3 separate regions of the Homo sapiens genome follow, and regions 1 and 2 are each linked to region 3. Evidence: promoter capture Hi-C in 16 types of primary human blood cells and fetal thymus (Javierre and others, 2016). All regions are on one chromosome and are shown on one strand. The core of a region is centred on a gene start or on the middle of the fragment in contact, and the rest is flanking DNA. Distances in the headings are between cores, read along the strand shown.

Evidence for each region. The method cuts DNA at HindIII sites, captures the fragments that hold promoters and counts their contacts. A CHiCAGO score of 5 or more calls a contact.
Region 1: a fragment that was not itself captured here is called in contact with the fragment with the promoter of KRTAP1-3 in region 3 in 5 of 17 cell types (activated CD4 T cells, naive CD8 T cells, non-activated CD4 T cells and 2 more); the score reaches 8.3 in activated CD4 T cells.
Region 2: a fragment that was not itself captured here is called in contact with the fragment with the promoter of KRTAP1-3 in region 3 in 7 of 17 cell types (naive CD8 T cells, total CD4 T cells, non-activated CD4 T cells and 4 more); the score reaches 11.1 in naive CD8 T cells.

Annotation. Positions count from the first base shown.
Region 1 is chr17:41,554,746-41,559,726 of GRCh38, reverse strand. No RefSeq gene overlaps it. Among named protein-coding and RNA genes, the nearest start is that of LINC00974, 2.7 kb to the right of the region's middle. The HindIII fragment of the contact is 4,431 bases long and covers 1,350-4,981 here.
Region 2 is chr17:41,594,352-41,598,745 of GRCh38, reverse strand. No RefSeq gene overlaps it. Among named protein-coding and RNA genes, the nearest start is that of KRT14, 9.7 kb to the right of the region's middle. The HindIII fragment of the contact is 1,482 bases long and covers 1,127-2,608 here.
Region 3 is chr17:41,032,207-41,036,800 of GRCh38, reverse strand. It overlaps KRTAP1-3 (keratin associated protein 1-3), which reads left to right and starts at 1,927. Exons shown (of 1, transcript NM_030966.2): 1 at 1,927-2,917. The coding sequence starts at 1,980. The coding sequence ends at 2,483. The HindIII fragment of the contact is 12,344 bases long and covers 1-4,594 here.

The DNA of each region.
Region 1 (4,981 bases), core at 2,316-4,815, 520 kb before region 3:
AAAATCTACCCTTTTCCAGATTCCCCTACAGCCATAGCTTAGGTTTTTCCAATCAGATGCACTCTGTGAGTCATGAGTTGAGTGGAGAGAGAAGTAGAGGGGGAAAAGTTAAATGCTTTTTCTTTGTGTAGGTCTGCCAGGTATACTGTATGGTCCTGGGGCCAACATGTCTGGTAGTGGCTTCCTGATTCCCAAGTTTTCTGATTGTGGCAGACCAAGAGTTCCCTTGGGGTCCACTTCTGTGGTGTTAATATGGAAGCCATGCCCAGAAGCCCAATATAGAGTCTGTTTCTTCAGCCTTCTAATGATTTTGCAAGCACCTAATGCCTTGTATTAAATTTATTTCTGTTAAGAAAGTGAGATTGGTTTCTGTTACTTAAAGCTGAACCCTAGCCGGGCACGGTGGCTCATGTCCATGATTCCCACACTTTAGGAGGCCAAGGCGGGCAGATTACCTGAGGTCAGGAGTTTGAGACCAGGCTGGTCAACATGGTGAAACCCCATCTCTACTAAAAATTCAAAAATTAGCTGGGCATGGTGGTGGGTGCCTGTAATCCCAGCTACTCGGGAGGCTGAGGCAGGAGAATCGCTTGAACCTGGGACGCGGAGGTTGCAGTGAGCTGAGATTGCACCCCTGCACTCCAGTCTGGGCGACAGAGTGAGACTCCATCTCAAAAAAAAAAACAAAAACAAAAAACCAAAAACCAAAAACCAAAAACCAAAAAACTGAACCCTGACTGGTGGTCTGCTCATGTATTTTTGTCCTAGAGACCCACCATCACAGACTCCTACAGATTTTATCCTAGTCCAGCTCTTCACCTTTGCCGTGTTGTACCTGAGATGTCATCTCCATTCAAATCAGGAGGCCTAATTCAACTGCAGCATATTTCATCCACATCCTCAGAGAACAACTGTTAACTGTGTTTTTCAAAGATGCTGTGTTCCCCCGATCCACGTATTTCTTAAAAGCCAGAGTCTGCACAGTGTCTTCTGGGCTCTCACAGTTGGTGAATGAGTGAATGGATTCCACGCAATAATTCTACCCCAACATTCCTGTCTCCCTAGGCAGTCAGATTCCTTTTTCTTTATTACAAAAAGGATTTTCTAGAAATAACTTTATTTCAAATAAGCCTTTATTGAGTTCAGTTTCTGTCATCCAACTGAGCAACCATTCTGATCCACTTCCAGATATTTAAGCTAGTAGCTGAACTTCCAGTCTCTGGTGAATGCTTGCACATTAACTGAGCTGGTTCAAAAATTCATTCCCAATCCCAGTCTTCACATTTCTGCTCATACAGGTTAGCAGCAGCTTGAAATTCTCCTGGTGTGTAAATCTTTTTCTCTAAGCTTTGTCTTTGTAATTGGCCTCTTCCCCCAGGTATGCTGGCATCTGGCTTATTTATAATTCTGAAAGCAATGAAGGGTGGTAGGGTAGAGTGTGAAGATAATTTGGAGTTTGGAGTCTATTAAATTCTCTAATACCTTCCTGTTCCAATTCTGTGGGTGTCCCTCTTTCCTGATCAGTGCTCTAACTTTTATATAAGAGACTTGGCAAGGTTGTGATTTCAACTTGGAGAAGTCAATTTTGAGTTTATTAACTACTTCAGCATTGTAGCTACAAGAAATGAGATATTTTTAAAGAATAATTGTGGACAGTCCCTGGTCCTCTGACTGTCTACAGAATCAGGAACTTAGAACTTCAAGTGTATTACTCCTTCTCTAAGCTCTTCAGTACAGTTAAAAGAAACAAGCCCACTCCAATTTAATTCACATGCTGTGGGCTTCTAGAAGCTCATTTTAATCATAGCCAGATTTTCACTGGCCCATCTAGGCCAGATAACCAAAGTGATTCTCATGTCATTCATTCAACAAACTTCACTGGATAAATATGTATCAAGCTCCTTTTATGCCAGGCACTGTCCTAGGTGCTTGGGATATATCAATGAACAAAAGAGACAAAGATTTCTGCCTCTATAGAGCTTGCATTATAGGTAAGGGTTGGGCAAGAGCAACAAATGTAATAAAGAAATAAATAATACTATACTTGAAGGTGGTAAGTGCGCAAAGAAGTAGGGAATATCAAGGGAGATTGGAGTGCTATGGCAGGGTGGGGAGGAGAGCAATGTTAAATAGGATGGCCAAGGTTGGGTTCACTGAGAAGGTAAAACATAAGCAATGACTTTGCGATGGAATAGTTGCCCTGACGCCCTTCATGGGCGGGAACTGGAGCACTTTGTTTTTTGTTTTTGTTTTGTTTTTTTTTGAGACTGAGTCTCGCCCTGTTGCCCAGGCTGGAGTGCAGTGGTGAGATTTCAGGTCACTGCAACCTCCGTCTCCCGGGTTCAAGTGATTCTCCTGCCTCAGCCTCCCGAGTCGCTGGGATTACAGGCACGGGCCACCAAGCCCGTCTAATTTTGTATTTTTAGTAGAGATGGGGTTTCTTATGTTGGGATTACAGGCACACACCATCACGCCCAGCTAAGGAGCACTTTGTTTCACTCAGCCTGTTGCTGGCCACTCCTTGTGGGAGTGAGTGTGTGAGCAAGTGTGGGAACCGGAGCAAATGAACGCTGGAACCAGCCGGTTGCTCCTCTCTGGCAGGAGCAGGCTCTGTTCGGGCCCTGCAGCAGCGTCCCTATTCTTTCAGCTGTGCTGTCAGGGGATGGCCAAATACCAACCAGTTCAATGGAGGTTCAGGGTGGCAGCCCCTGCCTTCTTGGCACCCAGGTTCTTGTCTGGCGTCCAGGAAGAAGAATCAGGTCACATAAACTGTTTGAAAGGTGACGAATGCAAAATACTTTACTGGGTGTTGGGTGGCTCTCAGTGGAAAGGGAGGATGGAAAGGTGATGGGATGGTGATCTTTCCCTGAAGCCCCACCGTCTCCGGCAGGGCCCCTCTCCAAAGCTGCACCATCTGAAGTTAGCCAGATCTATCCACAGTCTCCGATGCTCAGTTGCTTTTCTGCTCGCCGCTCAGCTGCTTATATCCTCAGTGCTCAGCCGCTTGTGTTGCTCTGCCAGCTGAAGTCTTTTATGGGCACAGCATGTGGGCAGGCAGGCCAAAAAGGTAACATTTTTGGGGAAAATGGGGTCCTTTAGGGCCGAGGTTCCAGGCTTAAGGGTAGGGTTTAGCCAGGAGCCCAGCCCTTCTGTATCAACTTGACGGAGTGAGGGAGGCAGTCAAGCGTGTGTGGGGACCACTCCAGGCACAGCAGCTAGTGCTGATGATCATCCTAACACACAGTGCCTTGAGCAGAGGAGTGACAGGCCACTTGATGAGAGGCTGCGAGGCTAGGAGCAGAAACAGAGAGCCCAGTGTGCAGGGAGGTGAAGAGCCCCTGGCACTCAGAGTGAAGACGGTCAGAGGTGGCTGGATTCTGAGCATCATCTGAAGAAAGCACTGCCAGGAGTTCTTGAAGGACTGCATATTGTAAAAGAAAGAAGTCAAGGAGGTCTCTGAGTCTTTTGTCTGAGCAACTGGATGATAGGAGTTGTGGGATGGAAGTTGGCTGGTATGAAAGATGGGGAGTCAGTTTCAGACATGCTAAATTTACATTGTCTTTTGGACACCCAAACGGAGATCTTTTAGAAGTCTCATGCCAGTAATCACACTTGTTACTAAATTCTGTAGCCATCAGGGTTTTTGCCTGCAAAGATCAGAAGCCACACTCTGAAGCCAGTTTGTTAAAGGATGTTAGGTAAGCCATAGACTCTCCAGGAAGAACTCGCAGGGAACAGGTTTGAAGGCAGCACAGCCCGGAGCAAGCCCACCCTTGCCACTATCTGCAGGTGCAGATTCAGTAGCCCATTCCACTTGGCGCTATCACCAAACTTGTGGCGCTGCTGCTTCTAGAAACTGGAGGTCTGCAGTTATTCCTTCCAGCATGGATTCCACCAGGTGCCTCCTTTTTTAGGACATTAGCTCCCAGCTTACAGGCTTCTGTGATGTGTGTGACTGATCATGTGTCTGTGCTCCAGCTGCAAGGGAGGCTGGAAGGCTAATTTCTGGCTTCTATAGCCAGGAGGCACAGACACTAGAGGGAGAATTCCTTTACAAAGGAGCTGGGCGACTAAGTGTAAGAACAATTGTCCACAAGGAAGGAGCAAGGACTAACACTGATTGCGCACTTAATAATGTTCCAGGCACTTCGCTAAGCATTTTATATAAGATAAGGGAATAAACCCTGTATCTAATCTTCACAGCAATCTCATGATGCTGTCCTTGTTTTCATTTTACACATGAGGAAACATTTTTAGCGAGATTAAATGACTTGCTGAAAAGGTCACACAGCTCCTAAGCAGTGGAGACAGGAACTGAATCTAGGAAGTCTGATCCAAGGACACTGGGATTATGAAGCCCATTTTATAGATGAGGAAATTCTAAGTTAGAGAGGTTAAGTAACTTGTCCAAGGTCACATAGCTTGTAAATGATCAAGCAAAGATATAATTCCAGTTTGGCCTGGCTCCAAAGCTGGTGCTCTGTTTCCTGTTCTCTATGGCCTTGAGCAATTATTGAGCCCCAAAAGAATACAGAGGCTAGCAAATCCCATAAGCAGAGGCTTGTCAAAAATACCTTATGTGGGCTGGGTGTGGCGGCTCATGTCTGTATTCCCAGCACTTTGAGAGGCTGAGGTAGGAGGATCACTTGAAGCCAGAAATTTGAGATCAGCCTGGGCAACAGAGCAAGACCCCGCATCTACCAAAAAAAGAAAAAAATATTGGACAGGCATGGTGGCATGCACCTGTTGTCCTAATTACTGGGTTACTTGGGAGGCTGAGGTGGGAGGATCACTTGAGCCCAGAAGTTTGAGGCTGCTGTGAACCATGATCATACCACTGTACTCCAGCCAGGGCAACAGAATGAGACTGTCTCTAAATTAAAAAAAAAAAAAGAAAAAGAAAAGAAAAAAAAAGGAAAGAAAAAAGGCTTACGTGGGAAGCAATGACTGTATGAAGAGCTGAGAATAAGACGAGTGACCT
Region 2 (4,394 bases), core at 618-3,117, 560 kb before region 3:
ATACCCCCCACCACCATCACCCCCACCATTAACACTACTACCATCACCACCACCACCACCAACACCCCCACCACCGAAATCACCACCTCCCCACCACCATCACCAACATTATCACTACCACTATCCTTACCATCACCACCACAATCACCAGCACCACACCAATACCCCCACCACCATCATCCCCACCATCACCACCCCCACAGCCCCACCACCACCATCACTACCATCACCACTACCACCATCCCTACCATCACCACCACAATCACCAGCACCACACCAATACGCCCCACCACCATCACCCCCACCATCACCACTCGCCCCTGCACCACCACCACCACCACCACTGAAATCACCACCCCCACCACCACTACCACCACCACCACCACCACTGAAATCACCACCCCCACCACCACTACCACCACCACCACCATCACCACCACCATCACCACTACCACCATCACTGCCATCACCACCATAATCACTGCCATCATTACCACCATCACCACCCCCACCCCCACTACCACCACCACATCATCACCACCATTACCACTACCACCATCACCACCATGACCACCACAATCACCACCATCATTACCACCATCTCCATCTCCATCACCACCACCACCACCACCACCACCACTACCTCCAGTACCTCCAACACCCCCAGCACCATCATTTCCTTTCCCCCAATCACTCCTCCAGTTCTTTGAAGGGGGTGTTGCTCATATGGGTTAAGTTAGATGGGGAGTAACCAAAGTCTTGGGACACACAGACATCACTCAAGCTGGGACAGTCAAAGGACAGATGCACACTGAGTGCTGCAGTAGAACAGTCCTCGCTAGATGCTGACAGAGAGAACAACCAACAGAACACTGATGAGATAATTGAGATAACGAGGCAGCACAGACTTGGATACCCCCATGGGGCTCCCATGTGGCTCCCTGGGAGGCAGACAGTGCCTGGTCTGCCTTGTGAAGGCTGCACAGCCTCTGGATGCTGCCTCTGCTCCTGTCCACCTAGGCTGTCTCCCTGACCGTGGGGGCCCACCAACTCTTCTTCCCCTTCCCTCACCAATATCCTCCCCCAATCTGGTTTTCCCTCTTTCACTTTGTTTTATCCAGAAGCTTTCCCTTTGTCCCTCCTAGTCTCTTGCTTATGGCCTAAACCTCGAGGCTCATTGGCACGCTGGAGCTGGCTCATGCTGGCTCTTGAGAGCTGGACATTAAAATTTCAGGAATTTTGCAAGGTGATTGTTAAATATGGCCCTCATCAAAAATTAAATTATACGAACTTAAAATTAAATGAATTATATTGAGAACAAAGGTAATGCATACTGAAAACTCATTCCTTCCAAATTATTTTACTACATTGTACTAATATCTGTGCTCTTGAGGTACTTATGACCATTTTATCCATATGGTGGACATGCTATAAGGCAGTGAGCTACTGCACGTCTCTTCCCAACCCTGTGTTAAGTGACTCCCTGTTGGTTGCTTGAAATTGGCCACAGTGGGGGTATTTACAACACGAAAAAAATAAATGTTATAAATTGGGGCTTGATTTATTGTTTTATTGATTGTCTTTTTTTTTTTTTTTTTAAGATGGAGTCTCACTTTGCCACCCAGGCTGGAGTGCAGTGCTGTGGTCATGGCTCACTGCAGCCTTGACCTGCTGGGGCTTAAGCAATCCTTCCACCTCAGTCTTCTGAGTTGCTGGGACTACTGGTGTATGCCTCCATGCCTGGCTAATTATTTTATTTATTTATTTTTGTAGAGATGGTATCTCACTATGTTGCCCAGGCTTGTCTTGAACTCCTGGGCTCAAGTGATCCTCCTATCTCAGCCTCCCAAAGCGCTGGAATTACAGGTGTGAGCCACCATGCCCAGCCCTGAATTGCCTCTTTTAGAAGCTAATTCAAGCTGAGTTTCCGTTGCTTGCAACCAAAATGTGCCCATCAATATATCCTGTTACCTAATTCTTGATTTATTTTTCTTCTATCCTTGCTGGATATTTTTAGTTTTATTATAAATATGTCTTTTATCATAAGCCATCCATGCCCTCTTTTGGAACTGGGAGACAGAAATGGTCATTTTTTTGCAAATATTGCACTGACAACCAGGATGGCCTCATTGAAACCTGAGAGGCTGCTTCCCCATCCCCTCATTCCAGCCACAGAATGTGGGCCCTGCTGGAAGCTCCCAGGCCTTCTCCCCTCACACCTAAACCATCCGCTGACTCTTCCTCATCAGTTTCCAGGCCTGCCCTATTCCCACAGCCTCCACCCTGGCCAGGCCCTTGCAGACTCACCAGCCCATCACCTGGCCGGCTGACCTCAGCAGCTCCCAGCTCCTGCAACAGGAGCTCCAGTAACATCCTGGACTCTTCTCTGTTCTCTGCCTCAAGGTCTTTGGCTGAACCTTGACACCTGTTCTCCATTTGCATCCCCCACTCCCTTTGGTCTAACTTGGGCTTAATTTAAGTGAACTTTTACCAAACACTTCCTCTGTGCCCAGTACCATGCTGGCCACCTGCGCTGACTTACCCACTCCTCTCAATAATCCTGCCAGGCTGAACTGGTTCTATTCCTATTTGATGGAAAACCAAAGCTTGGACGGCTGCAATGGCCTGTCCAAGGTCACATGGCTCGTCAGTGATGGAGCCAAGACTTGAAAGCTGGTCTTTCTGATCGGGAGGCCCTGCTCCTTCCTTGATCCCATGCGGTATCCCGTCTGGGGGAGGGAGGTGGGGTGCAAGATGCTGAATCTGTTCCCACATCTCTGACTGTGGGAAATGACTCTTTCTATCCATGAGGCTAGAACTACTCGGCGACCCCTTCCCTTCCTCTTTCCCTTTCCCTCTGTCCTGCCGACCAGAGCTCAGGACTCCTGACACAGACATTCCGACTCCCAGGTGCTGACTCTCCCCGCAACTCACCACTGTGCTGGAGTTCCCACAGCCACGCCCTCTCCCCACTCCACCCTCCAGGGTTCTTCCTTCTTTCAAAACCTGAGTCAAAGCGCACCCTTTCCAAGAAAACTTCTGTGTGCTAATCCACCCCACCTTGTGGCTCCTGTGCTCCTGGCTCCCCTCAGCCTATGGCACAGGGAAAACTCTGGGCTCTGCAACCCTCCTCCATCAGACTGGACAGCCCACGGGCAAGGGTTGTGTCTCCTGCATCAGACCAGAGTAACACTGAGGACTGACTATGTGAAAAACACTTTGTGGCCCCCTAAGGCACTATGGGGAGGTATAATCAAGGGTGGGGGCACAGATCACAGAGGCAGTGGGAGGTCTGAGAGATGGGGAGAAAGCCAGGTGACCTGAGCTGATGGGGTGGGGCTTCCTGGGAGAGGAGAGGTCTGAGCCAACAACATCCCTTACCTGGATATGGCAAATTCTCCCTACTGGTCCCCCACACCACGGCAAAGTATGTTCTGCATGGAGACCAGGGTGGCCTTTGTGAAACATCCGACAGCATCACTCACCAGCTTAGGACCCTTCAGTGGCTCCAGTGTCATCAGGATAAAGTCTGAGCTTCCCAGCACCTTTATCACCACCTGGCCTAAGGCTCTCAGTTTCATCGGGCAGGCCCAGCCTTGAGCTGTGAACTCTAACAATACATAACTGCTTGCAGTTTCCATCAGACCAGTCTTTCACACGTCTGCACTTTGCCTGGGTGCTTCCTTGGGCAAATGGGATGTCTATCCTCACTTCCGCTGCTTGCTCAGCATCTACTCATCTTCAAGGTTCAGATCAGTTAAGAGCTCCTCTAGGATGCTGGCCCCCTCTGCCCCCAGCTGGGCTGGCTGTCCTTTCTCAGTGCCCCACCATCCTTCACCCACCTGCCTACCCACCATCCACCCACCTCCTGTTCATCCCTCTATCCTTTTACCCATTATTATTCCCTTCCTTCCATTCATCCATTCATCTACTTCCCTGTCTGATCACTCCCCAGCCGTTCATCCCTCCACTTTCCCTCGTTCTTCTCTTCCTTCCACTCATCTATCCATCTGTCCACCTGCCATCCATCCATCCATCCATCCGTCTATATGTCCATCCATCCATCCATCCATCCATCCCTCTTCTACATTCCCTTACCCTCTTCCCTTTCCCTTCCTCCTGCTCTCCCTCCTCCCTCCCTCTGTCCTCCTTCTGTCCTCCCTCCTCTTACTCTCCATCCTCCCTCCCTCTGTGCTTCCTTCCTTCATTGAGCACCTACTTTGTGCCACACAGTCTGCAGGAATCTGCATAAACCATATGTGGAACTGAGGCTTGGCCTTAAAGAACATGAGGGGTTTGGGTAGGAAGAGAGGACATATGTGGAAATTCAGGCAGAGATTGGAAATGGATGGAGATGTAGGGACCAGCAAGGGGACAGGCCTGTTGGGGAGGGG
Region 3 (4,594 bases), core at 678-3,177:
ATATGCAACGCCACTGTCTCCAGTGCTCTTATCAATAATGTATTTCAGGTCCTCAGATATCTGAGCCTTTTGCAAAAGGAGATACATCTGTTTAGTATCAAAGATTCTGCTAAATTTAGATCTGAATTAAATAGCTCCCGAGATTGTTGTCATGACACACCCACGTATTTCAAGCATCCAACATAAAAAATATTAGCTAATCAAAGAATCTGTGATGTAGCTTTGCTTAAGAAGAAGCAAGGAATTCACAAAGAATCATATCTTTTAAACCAAATTTGATGTGGGATTTGAAAATATGTCTTAATTCTGACTCAGAAAGAGTTATGATGTAAACTCAAAGCTGTCATTTCTAGAGAAGCAGAACTACCACTTGGTGTTCTGGTTCAAAATCCAAGAGTAGCATCGTAACTTGCATTTCTCAGTAATGAACCCATACTCCATGGAGGCCTGGTCACCTTTTATTGCATCTAAACAAAACCTTTATATTCACCGTCATCAGCTGTCTCATTCAAATTATATAAACTTTCCAGTTCACTGGATTAGTCTCTAATATCTATAATAAACTGCATACAGCCGATCTAACACTCTGTAGTAAATCACATACTCCAGTATTAATATGTTAAAAACTATAATTTTATGCAGTTAAAAAATCTAAATCTATAGAATATCCTAAGATAAAAGATGAGACAAAGTCACAAGAAGGTTAACTTTTTTAGCACTTAAGATTTTCTTGAACTGTGCTTATTATGCTGTTAATAAATAAATAAAATCTCTAGGAATGGCTGTAGTAAACTGTGTTATTACTTACCCTAAGCTCTCCCTTCCTTCCTTTTACTCTCAAAAAAGTCCGTAAGAAAGGAAGCAAATTTTTACGGCTTGCTTTCACCATTGGAATTTCCTTAGAATGACTTTTTACATAAAAAAAGAAGAAAGGAAAGAAAGAAAGGAGAAAGAAGAAAAAGAAAGAAAGAAAGAAAGAAAGAAAGAAAGAAAGAAAGAAAGGAAGGAAGGAAGGAAGGAAGGAAGGAAGGAAGGAAGGAAAGAAAGAAAGAAAGGAAAGAAAGAAAGAAAGAGAAAGAAGGAAAGAAAGAAAGAAAGAAAGAAAGAAAGAAAGAAAGAAAGAAAGAAGAAAGGAGGGAAGGAAGGAAGGAAGGGAGAAAGACAGAGAGAAAGAGAGAAAGAATTGACTATAGTGTTTAAAGAGTTTAGTCTGGAATCAGAGGTTGTGGATTCAAATTTCAGATTCACTAGATACTAGTGTGAACTAGGGTAAGTTACTTCAACCTGTTGTGGCTCAGTTTTCTCACATGGTTGATGGGAGTGGCAGTGATACCTAGCCCATAGATTGCCGTGAAAATTCAGCAAATTGATACATGCGAAGTACTCAGAACTATTTAGGCACATAATCAGTGATGGGAAAATGTTATCAATAGCAATTAATGCAAATCTCCCAGGCCCAAGAAAGCATCCCTTTCTGGCCAGCTGAATATAGTCTTGCTTCACAGTCAAAGGGAAGATAAGAAAGTTAGAGAAGGAGCCACAGTTAAAATTGGAGGGAATTAAACTGTCATGTGAGACCCAATCACCCAGTTGTAAGGGTCAACACTGAGTAATATTGACAATCCTTAAAGGTGAGGCATCAGTCAATTATTCCTTGACCATGAGGAAATTTTAAGAAACATGAGGAGTTAGGGATCATATTCCTAATTAATGCCAATGACTTCTTGACCATGGTAAAGAAGCCTAATTGCAGACCAAATACAATCAACTTTCAAAGGCTCTCAGTAGGTTCAACAAATAATTCAGGGAGAGGCCAATTATCATTCAGAGACAAATTATCCAACACAAATAAGCAAGAGACTTCTGGAATTATGTAAACAGTAGCTGGCCCAGGCTTATAAAAGGCCCAATGTGGCAGCCATCACCAAAACTCAGAAACTCCTCCAAGCAACCCAGACTTCATACCAGCTCCCAACACCATGACCTGCTGCCAGACCAGCTTCTGTGGATATCCCAGCTGCTCCACCAGTGGGACATGCGGCTCCAGCTGCTGCCAGCCAAGCTGCTGTGAGACCAGCTGCTGCCAGCCAAGCTGCTGCCAGACCAGCTTCTGCGGATTTCCTAGCTTCTCAACTAGTGGGACCTGCAGCTCCAGTTGCTGCCAGCCAAGCTGCTGTGAGACCAGCTGCTGCCAGCCAAGCTGCTGCCAGACCAGCTCCTGCGGAACTGGCTGTGGCATTGGTGGTGGCATTGGCTATGGCCAGGAGGGCAGCAGTGGAGCTGTGAGCACCCGTATCAGGTGGTGCCGCCCAGACTGCCGTGTGGAGGGTACCTGCCTGCCCCCCTGCTGTGTGGTGAGCTGCACACCCCCAACCTGCTGCCAGCTGCACCACGCCGAGGCCTCCTGCTGCCGCCCATCCTACTGTGGACAGTCCTGCTGCCGCCCAGTCTGCTGCTGCTACTCCTGTGAGCCCACCTGCTAAAAGCCAGTTTGCTGATTTTCAACTTGAAATTTCCACTTTCAGTTCCATTCATGAACGAATTATTTCTTCAAGCACTTATGGACAACGAACAAATTCTTCAACCTTTCTTTGTCTTTCTTATGGGGGTTACCAAATATTTTGGCCTCAGAATTATCTGATTCCTTTCAATTCCAGAAAGACCTTACTCTTCTCTCTGAGGACGCCAAAATACAAATTTGACCCAAGAAATGAAAAAGCCGATTTACCTTGAAACTGAGCCTTTGCAAGCATTGAAGCCCACGCTCTGAGTCTCAGCGCCGACGAGACCATGGAAGAGCCATCTGTCCTTCTCAGGACACTCACTTCCTGTATCCCACCGTCCTGCAAATTGCACCCCCTATGAAAGAGGAATAATATACCAAGGTCTAATAAATTTTAACTATTGGTGCAACAAACATATCTTTTTTTTTTCATTGAGTGTACTCAGGATGTATATTTCATAGAATGTCATATGAAAAACTTTAATCTGCTTTTGATATCCCTTCTCTTCTAATACCACATTAGGAAATTTGTTATCCAGAGGTCCAGTGGAGGTTAATGACCATAAAAACATAGAGTAAGTGTAGTTATTTAGGGCCTCAGAAATGGCAAAGGCTCTGTTACCATAACTTAACCTTACACAGTGCTTTCACAACCAGGAAGTTACAGAAATCAAAATCTCTGGCTGGGTACGGTGGCTCACACCTGTAATCCCAGCATTTTGGGAGGCCAAGGTAGACAGATCACGAGGTCGGGAGTTTGAGATCAGCTTGGCCAACATGGTGAAACCCCATCTCTACTAAAAAAAATAAATTGCATTTCTATATACTAACCATGAAAAATCTGTAAGGAAAATTTTAAAAACAATTCCATCAAAAGAATAAAATACTTATGGCCGGGCATGGTGGCTCATGCCTGTAATCCCAGCACTTTGGTAAGCTGAGGTGGGCAGATCACCTGAGGTTAGGAGCTCAAGTCCAGCCTGGCCAATATAGTGAAACCCTGTCTCTACTAAAAATACAAAAATTAGCCAGGCATGTTCGTGGATGCCTGTGGTCCCAGCTACTGGGGAGGCTGAGGCATGAGAATTGCTTGAACCCAGGAGGTGGAGGTTACAGTGAGCCAAGATTGTGCCACTTCACTCCAGCCTGGGTGACAGAGTGAGACTCCATTTCAAATAATAATAATAATAATAAAATAAAGAATAAAATACTTAGGAACAAACTTAGCCTTGGAGGGGAAAGACTCGTACACCAGAAACTACAAAATGTTACTGAAAGAAATTAAAGAAGACACAAATAAATGAAAAGACATCCTGAGATCATGGATTATAGGATTTAATATTGTTAAGATGTCAATACTACCCAGAGAATCTACAGATTTAACGCAATCCCTATAAAAATCCCAATGATGTTTTTGCAGAAATTTTAAAAAAATCCATCCTAAAATACATATGAAATTAGAAGGGGTCCTATATAGCCAAAACAATCTTAAAAAAGAACAAAGTTGGTCTCACATTTTCCTGTTTCAAAATTTACTGTAAAGCTACAGTAATCATAACAGTGTGATACTGATATAAAGACAGATATATAAAGCAATGGAAAAGAACAGAGAGCCTAGAAATAAACCCTCAAATACACATATGGTTAAATGAGTTCATTTATTTATTTATTTGAATTGACAAAAATTATATGTATTTATTGTGTACAACACATTTTTTTGGAATATGTATACTTCGTACAATGGCTAAATCAAACTAATTAACATATGCATTACCTCACATAAGTTTTTTTGTAGTGAAAACACAAAATCTACTCTCTTAGCAATTTTCAGGACTGTAACATATTGTTATGAACTATAGTCTCTATGTTGTACAATAGATCTCTTGAATTTATTCCTCTTATCTAACTGAAATTTTGTAATCCTTTGACCAACATCTTCCCAACACACTCCACCACCACCCTACCCCCGGTAACCACCATTCTACTTTCTACTTCCATGAATTCAACTTTTTCTTTTTTTTGAGGTTTTTTTGTTTTTATTATACTTTAAGTTCTAGGGTACATGTGCACAACTTGCAGGTTTGTTGCATA